Regions from separate parts of the Homo sapiens genome. Here region 1 is linked to region 2. The links are contacts of gene promoters, found by promoter capture Hi-C in human tissues and cell types (Jung and others, 2019). All regions are on one chromosome and are shown on one strand. The core of a region is centred on a gene start or on the middle of the fragment in contact, and the rest is flanking DNA. Distances in the headings are between cores, read along the strand shown. Region 1 has its middle 22 kb from the start of MIR1270. Region 2 holds the start of ZNF90 (zinc finger protein 90).

The links. The method cuts DNA at HindIII sites, captures the fragments that hold promoters and counts their contacts. A contact is called where the count stands out against the background at its distance.
Region 1: a contact is called between a fragment that was not itself captured here and the fragment with the promoter of ZNF90 in region 2, in 2 of the 25 tissues and cell types used here (H1 embryonic stem cells and thymus).

Annotation. Positions count from the first base shown.
Region 1 is chr19:20,375,223-20,379,232 of GRCh38, forward strand. No RefSeq gene overlaps it. Among named protein-coding and RNA genes, the nearest start is that of MIR1270, 22 kb to the right of the region's middle. The HindIII fragment of the contact is 5,069 bases long and covers 1-4,010 here.
Region 2 is chr19:20,074,736-20,079,324 of GRCh38, forward strand. ZNF90 (zinc finger protein 90) reads left to right here and starts at 3,265. Exons shown (of 4, transcript NM_007138.2): 1 at 3,265-3,400. The coding sequence starts at 3,398. RefSeq lists an enhancer at 3,208-3,687. The HindIII fragment of the contact is 4,387 bases long and covers 1-4,259 here.

The sequences.
Region 1 (4,010 bases), core at 924-3,423, 300 kb after region 2:
TGCCCCTGATGGAAATACAACAAAGGCATTGCAAGGTCTGACTGCTCTGTCCAATGAGTTAGCCAACAATTCAAGTGTAAATGACCCCTTTACAAGATGGCTAGAAAAGTGGTTCAGTAAATGGAAAAAAATAATAGCCTAAATTCTTACTTCCCTTGCAGACGTAATGGGTATACTTCATCTTGTCAGGTGCTGTGTCACACCATGACTCCGTGAGTTGGTGCAGAGGCTTATAAAAACAGCACTTACTAAAACCTCCCTTAATTATCCACCACCTTATCCATAGAAGCTTCTTTTGGAAAATCAAGCAGAACAACTAAGCCAAGACATGTTAAAAAAAATTTGAAAAGAAAGGGCTGTAAGGAAATGCAAGAGGAGGGGTTGTTAGATATGACTTCTAAATTTCTTCTCAAAGAATCAATATGTCAGTATGTTCAATTCTTTGCCTTCTACTTTTAAGCTTAACTTCCTCATAAAGCAACCTTTTTCAATTACCTGCTCCACCCTGACTCATTCCCATTACCTGCTACCTGCTCTGCTCTGACTCATTCTCCACCCGGCATAACCACTTTTTCCTACCAAACCACTTACCCCGTCACTCTCTTTAAATTAGCCAATCGGAATGAGTTTAGCCTGTCTGGTCTAACCCTAGCCAATAGGGGAAAGACACAGCAGCAGGGTCCACGTGCATCAAAGATAAGAACCCCTTTACCTCCCTTGTCCGGGTATGCGCTCACCATTGCTCCATCTGTAAGGGTGCACCCTTCTATAGAAGTACCTCGGCTTGCTGAGAATTAAAAAGAAAATGTTATATTTGAGTGCTATTTCTTTAGCCGCACCGAAACTTTATAACAGTACCTTCTACACGTGTTCCCATGTGACTAATCTTTTACTGCATAATTTTTAATAGAAATAATAAAATAATACATATATTGTCTGAAAAAAGTAGATATATTTGCTTTTCTTATGGAGGTGTAAAATGCAAGCAACTTAGCCAGGTACTGTGGCTCATGCCTGTAATCCCAGCAGTCTGGGAGGCCAATGCAGGTTGATCACTTGAGGTCAGGAGTTCAAGACTATTAGGCCTCTGAGCCCAAGCTAAGCCGTCATATCCCCTGTGTCCCACACATATACATCCAGATGGCCTGAAGCAAGTGAAGAATCACAAAAGAAGTGAAAACAGCCAGTTCCTGCCTTAACTGATGACATTCCACCAATTTGTGACCTGGAGGGGCATTCTCAGTACACTTTTGAGTAGAAATGTTCAGGAAGCAGGATAGTAGCCTGCTGGGAACATTAGTAAGAGGGGCTGCAAAGAAGATAATCAAAATATTGAATAAGGTGGGGTCAGGAGTTTGAGACCAGTCTGGTCAACAAGGTGAAACACTGTGTCTACTAAAAATACAAAAATTAGCTGGTGGTCATGGTGGGTGCCTGCAATCCCAGATTCTCAGGAGGCTGAGGTGGGAGAACTGCTTGAACCTGAGAGGCGGAGATTGCAGTGAGCCGAGATGGCACCACTGCACTGCAGAGATGGCACCACTGCACTGCAGCCTGGGCGACAGAGTGAGACTCCATCTCAAAAATAATAATAATTTATTTTGGCCACTGAAGACAAACTCAGCTGATTGTTTTAATGAGAATAAGGAGAAAATATGCAGAGTGTGTATCTGGCATTGTGATAAGTAAGAAAAGAGAGCATTATCTAAGTCGTAATGGGAAGAGTGTTTCTTTCCACAAACTGTTACTGGAGCACACAAAGGATGTAGAATTTTATTAATCGCAAATATTTTTTATGATTTTGTGTTTCATCTTTCCCCATCTCTTTTCTTTGTTCTATGCATTTCTTCCATTTGGCTTTTCCTGGGCTGCATTTTATATATATGAAACCGGTAAACGTAACTACAGTGTTTTGCTGAGTTCTGTGAGTAGCTCTACCCAATTATTCAACTTCAGGGAGGTTATGGGAGTCCCCAGTTTTTAAGCAGCAGCTCAGAAGCATAGATGGGCCCATGGGGTTTGTGACTGGCATCTGCAGTGAGGACAATGTTGTGGAACTGAGCCCTGAATCAGGGTCTGTGCTGACTCTGGGTGGTGTCAGATTTCAAATGTTAGACAATGAGTTGGTGTTGGAGAATTATTTGATGTTCAGCAAACTACAGATTTGGTGCCAGAAAAAAGATATCATGGAGCCCTGGCCTGGAATAAAATTCTGGGTGTTTGGGAATGGGACTGAAAACTTAGAGGAAAGGAGCGCTGATGACAGACCCCCTTTTCTTGCAGCTGTTACCACAGGATTCCCACCCACTCACAAACACACACACTAGACATTGACATGTCCACACTCCTCCCAGGACTAGGCACCACCCTCAGGAACTTCACCACGGCATTTTTGATCCAAGAGTTTCTTGCCAAGAACCCACAAGTCTCTACAAATCTGGCATATCCCCCTCCCTGGACACCGAATCTGCAGCAGCAACCTGTTTTCTCCACCAACCTAGGGTTCTGGACCTGCTTTTCACAATCTCGTCTGCCTGCATTCACACAGAAATAAATCAGAGTACAGCCCCACTGGGCCACTATCTGTAGCGAAAATCAGTCCACTTACCTACATTGCAATCTCCCCGACCCAGGAATTTTTTTTCTTTTAGCTCTTATTTTTGGTTTGGGGTACACATGTGGGTTTGTTACACAGCTATGTCATGGGGTTTGGTGTGCAGATTATTTTGTCCCTGAGTTACTACCTGTAGCACCAAACAGGTATGTTTTCTGATCCTCTGAGTCGTCCCATACTCCACCCTCAACTAGGCCTCAGTGTCTGTTTCTCTCTCTCTCTTTTTTTTATTTTTATTTTTGAGACCGAGTCTCGTACTCTTTCCCAGGCTGGAGTGCAGTGGTGCCATTTCAGCTCACTGCAAGCTCTGCCTCCTGGGTTCACACCATTATCCTGCTGCCTCAGCCTCCTGAGTAGCTGGGACTACAGGCGCCCTCCACCATGCCTGGCTAATTTTTTGTATTTTTAATACAGACAGGATTTCACTGCGTTAGCCAGGATGGTCTCTATCTCTTGACCTTGTGATCTGCCCGCCTTGGCCTCCCAAAGTGCTGGGATTACAGACATGAGCCACTGTGTCTGGCCTGTTCTCCTCTTTGTGTTCATGTGTTCTTATTATTTAGCTCTTACTTATAAATAATAACATGCATTTGGCTTTCTGTTTCTGCATTAGTTTTCTTTTTTTTGTTTTGTTTTGTTTTTTTGAGAAGGAGTTTTGATCTTGTTGTTTAAGCTGGAGTGCAATGGTATGATCTCGACTCACTGCAAACTTCGTTTCCTGGGTTCCAACAATTCTCCTGCCTCAGCCTCCTGAGTAGCTGAAATTACAGGAGGGCGCCACCACTCCTAGCTAATTTTGTATTTTTAGTAGAGACACAGTTTCTCTATGTCGGTCGGGCTAATCTCAAACTCCTGACCTCAGGTGATCCGCCCAAATCGACCTCTTGAAGTGCTGGGATTATGGGCCTGAGCCATCGCCTGGCCTCTGCGTTAGTTTTCTAAGAATGTTGGTCTCCACCTTCATCAATGTTATTGCAAAGGACATGGTCATTTTTTGTGTGTGTGTGTGGCCACCCAGTATTCCATGATGTTTCGTTTTTACTAAATTTTGTTTAGTAAATTTTTGTTTTTACTAAATTTTTTATTTTATTTTTGGAGACAAGCTTATTGCCCAGGCTAGAGTGCCAAGGCATGATATTGGCTTACTTTAGCCTCAACTTCCCAGGCTCAAGCAATTCTCTCCTACCTCATCCTCCCAAGAAGCTAGGACTACACACAGGCATTACCAAGCCTGGCCAATTTTTCTTTTTGCACTTTCCGTGGAGACAGGATTTTGCCATGTTTCCCAGGCTGGTCTCAAACTTCTAAGCTCAGGCAATTCACTTGCCTCCGCCTCCCAAAGTGCTGGGATTACAGGCATAAGCCACCGCATATGACCATACCATATTACCATATT
Region 2 (4,589 bases), core at 2,015-4,514:
GAACCAGTGGATCTGAATCCCCGAGTTCTGTATGTAGCCTCTGTTGGGACAGAGATTTCCTCAGGGGTTAATTGTTGACAAGGTACCACTAATAATTGAGCAACCCACATTTGTGGTTTTATAGCAAAAGAATCTGGAGTGGTATTGTATAAAACAACCTTTAACTCTCCCCAGTAATCACCATCAATTATACCACCAAACACTATAATGCCTCTCATTGCAAGGCTTGAACACATTGTAATCCATTCATCCACATTCAAATTTGCATTTATGGTGGAAATTTTGGCCTGTCGATCTTCCTGCTGATTAAATAGTCTGTCAAGAAAAGCAGAGATGCATGAGCATCATCATGGAAAACAGATCCAGGAGTGGTGGCCCAAGCCTGTACTTCTACCAATTTGGGAGGCTGAGGTGGGTTGTTCACGAGGTCAGGAGATTGAGACCACCCTGGTGAACACAGTGAAACCCCGCCTCTACTAGAGAAGTACAAAAATTAGCTGGGCGTGGCGGTGCATGCCTGTAATCCCAGCTACTCGGGAGGCTGAGGCAGGAGAATCACTTGAACCTGGGAGGCAGAGGTTGCAGTGAGCTGAGACTCAGCCACTGCACTCAAGCCTGGTGACCCGAGACTGAGCCACTGTACTCCAGCCTGGTGACAGAGCTAGACTCCGTGTCAAAAAAAATAAATTAATTAATACAGGAAAACAATGATAATGGTAGTGTGTACCAGAATTCATGTATCTTCCCAGTATTGTTTTCCCCATACCTCTTTATTCCCAATTAACCATTTGTTTTGTTGTCATTGGGGCATCCAGGTAGTAAGACCATTTGCTACTGAGCAAGAGTTGGTATACAAGTGACAAATCCTTCTTCCTTCCTTTCGAAGAGCTCAGAGGATGTCTACTAGTTCAGTTAACTGGCTGCTCCCACCCCTTTCTTCATCAGAAATGGTTATGTTTTTCGGTTGTTTGTTTTTGAGATGGAGTCTCAGTCTGTCACATAGGCTGGAGTGCAGTGGTGAGACCTCAGCTCATTGCAACCTCTGCCTCCTGGGATTCCAGTGATTCTCCTGCCTCAGCCCCCTGAGTAGCTGGGATTATAGATGCATGCCACCACACCTGGCTAGTTTTTGTATTTTTAGTAGAGATGGGGTTTCATCATGTTGGCCAGCCTGGTCTCAAACTTCTGACCTCGTGATCCACACATCTTGGCCTCCTGTGGATTTTGAGGGAACTCGTGACCTAAATCATAACAGGAAATTTAGGCCTCATAAAGACATCATGGTTAAAGCAGAGGTGTTTTGTTTCCAGTAAAGTCCAATAGCAAGCTAACAATTGTGCACAGGTGAGGAGAGCTGTCACGAAGCTTTGGCGCAGTCTGGGACCCTAGCTCTTTTGTAATGAGTTGTTTGGCACGAGGCTTAGTCATGAGGACCCTTCGCGACTGAGCTGAAGAAACACAAAAAGGTCACTTGTTTTTGGGATTGTCTGTTGTTTTTCAAGAACGAATGTATAGGAATAGATTGAAATACAGATTTCTCTGAAACAGCGCTGGATGAACGCCTCTAGGGGCTCACACAACCTGTTCCCGGACTTGGTGACCATTGTTTGTGTCCACGTTCAATTAGCACAAATTTATTATTTAACTTTGACTCCACACCAGACTATGGAGGATTCACCACCAGACCGGAAAGCAACAGGATGGGCTCCAGAGTTGGCCACCCATCGGTGCACAGACCAGGAGAGGTATAATGACGCTTCTGCGCGGTCTGGGAACCTAGCTCTTTTTGTAACGAGTTGTTCAGCATGAGGCCTAGTCACCAGGGCCCTTCATGACTGGTCTCAAGGAACACAGAAAGGTCAACTTGTTTTTGTGATTGTCTATTGTTTTTCTTTTTCTTTCTTTCTTTTTTTTTTTTTTTTTTGAGACGGAGTCTCGCTCTGTCGCCCAGGCTGGAGTGCAGTGGCGCGATCTCGGCTCACTCCAAGTTCCGCCTCCCAGGTTCACACCATTCTCCTGCCTCAGCTTCCCGACTAGCTGGGACTACAGGCGCCTGCCACCAGGCCTGGCTAATTTTTTGTATTTCTAGTAGAGACGGGGTTTCAGCGTGTTAGCCAGCATGGTCTTGATCTCCTGACCTCGTGACCCGCCCGCCTCAGCCTCCCAAAGTGCTGAGATTACAGGCGTGAGCCACCGCGCCCGGCCTTGTCTATTGTTTTTCAATAACGAATGTATAGGAATAGATTGAATAGATTGACATAGAGATTTCTCTAAAATAGCACTGGATGAACGCCTCAAGGGGCTCACACAACCTCTTCCAGGACTTGGTGACCATTGTTTGTGTCCACGTTCAATTGAGTTCAAATTAAATATTTAACTTTTCCTCCACAAATTCCCCTGTCTTGATGAATTGGTTTTGTCTGGGCAAAGGGCAAGGTAAACTCCTTGGGCGGTTACACAACCTCCACCTCCTAGGTTCAAGAGATTCTCCTGCCTCAGCCTTCGGTGTAGCTGGGACTACAGGTGTGCACCAGCACGCCCAGGTAAGGTTTTGTATTTTTAGTAGAAATGGGGTTTCACCGTGTTGGCCAGGGTGGTCTTGAACTCCTGACCTCAAGTGATTCGCCCTCTTTGGCTTCCCAAAGTGCTGGAATTACAGGCGTGAGCCACCGCGCCTGGCCCTAAATGATTTCCTTTCTGTCTCCTATAACAGTTTGAAATTACTTAAAAGTTGTTTCAAATTGAAAAAATAAAAAGAATGTAGATAAAAATAAAATATAAAAAGTTAAAAAAATTACATTAGATTACAAAATATATATGATGTATATGTAAGTCTCGAGAGGTCAAAAATGACAAATTTGATTTACTTACAAGGTTTTATTAAAATTAGCTTTCGTATTGATAATACACTATTACCAAAGTAAAAGTTTTCTCTTGAACAAAAATTTTTTGTATTATTAATATGACAGCCAAATACTTCTGTTCACCTTTTGAATACATTCAAAAAGAGAAAGAGTAAAAAAGAATTTTCCCATGCTCTCCGGTGGGCCTGGCTCAGCTCAAGGAGGAAGCCCGGCCTGAAAAGGCTGCAGCTGAGGCTGTGACTCTTTCTTCACTCAGCCCAGCATGTGATCACATCTTCTGTCACTCAGGGACTGAGGAGGCGGGGCCTTAAGCATTATCCAATCAGGGACGCTGGGTTGGAAACCGTCCAATCATGCAGGCAGCTGGAGCGAAGAGGAAGGCTTTCGGGTTTGGCGCGGCCATTTGTCTCTTGCTGCAGCTGGTGCTCCAAATCTGGTCTTAGCTGCTTCGTGTCTTCTTCTCCAGCCTCTGTGGCCCTGTGACCTGCAGGTATTGGGAGATCCACAGCTGAGGGACCCCCGGAAGCCTAGAAATGGTGAGAGTGCCTTTCCAGCATTCCGAGAGAGGGGAGGGACTGGTTGGAACCGATGGGAAGTGGCTGTGGCGGGACTTAGGCCTCCCCGCAGTCAGCTCCACAATCTGCGACCGACTTCTCCTTGCCCAGTTCGGCCTCAGTCCCCTTCAGCCATAAGATGGCAACAGCGCCGACAGCCGGGCCCCGCGGCGTCCTGTCTCTTCCCTGCCCTGGCCTGGAGCCCTCTCTGGGCAGCTCTGCACCCACAGCGCTGCGTCTCTCCCAGATTGTGCAGGGAGCACGGGAGGGTTCTCGGGGGAGAATCCTGACTCGGGGTGCAGGTTCATGAATGGGAAGAGCTTTGGTCCATGGGGTTGACAGTTTCTCTTTTCTCCTATTAAAAACTTATGGGGCCGGTCGCTGTGGTTCATGCCTGTAATCCCAGCATTTTGGGAGGTCGAGGCGAGCGGATCACTTGAGGTAAAGGGTTGTTAGTACAACGTAGTTCTTCTTCAAAGACGCAACTTCCTGGTCATAAGTTGGAAAAGTTGTAAATCACCCCTACCCCTTCTTCTCCCTTCTCCTTTTCTCACAAATCGCGCATTACCCGATTTGGAAAAAGCTTGAGTGTAAGCCAACCGGGATCAGCTTAGATTGTGCGGTCTGACCCCAGCCAATGGAGGGAAAACAAAAACAGAACTGCATTAGGGCTAATAACCCCTTCCCGGCCAGGCGCGGTGGCTCCTGCCTGTAATTTCAGCACTTTGGGGCGCCGAGGCGGGCGGATCACGTGGTCAAATTTCTAGACCAGCCTATCCAACGTGGTGAAACCTCTCTCTACTAAAAATACAAAAATTAGCCTGGAGTGGTGCCAAGCGCCTGTAATCCCAGCAACTTGGGAGGCTGAGGCCCGAGAATTGCTTGAACTCGGGAGGCAGAGGTTGCAGTGAGCTGAGATCCCTCCATCGCGCTCCAGCATGCGCGACAGAGGGAGAGTCCTCAAAAAAAAAAAAAAAAAAAAAAGTAAGCATCTTAAAATTTCCATCCTTTATGTAAACACTGTGTTTTAGTAACTTCACTGTATTTTCCAACACTTAGTTTCAAAAACCCAGTGAATAACTCTGGCATGGAAATTAAAGCTTGAACCTAGTGATTCCGAGCTAAGGCTAATATTAAGCCTGCAAAAGGAGGGTTTTTTTTTTTTTTTTGA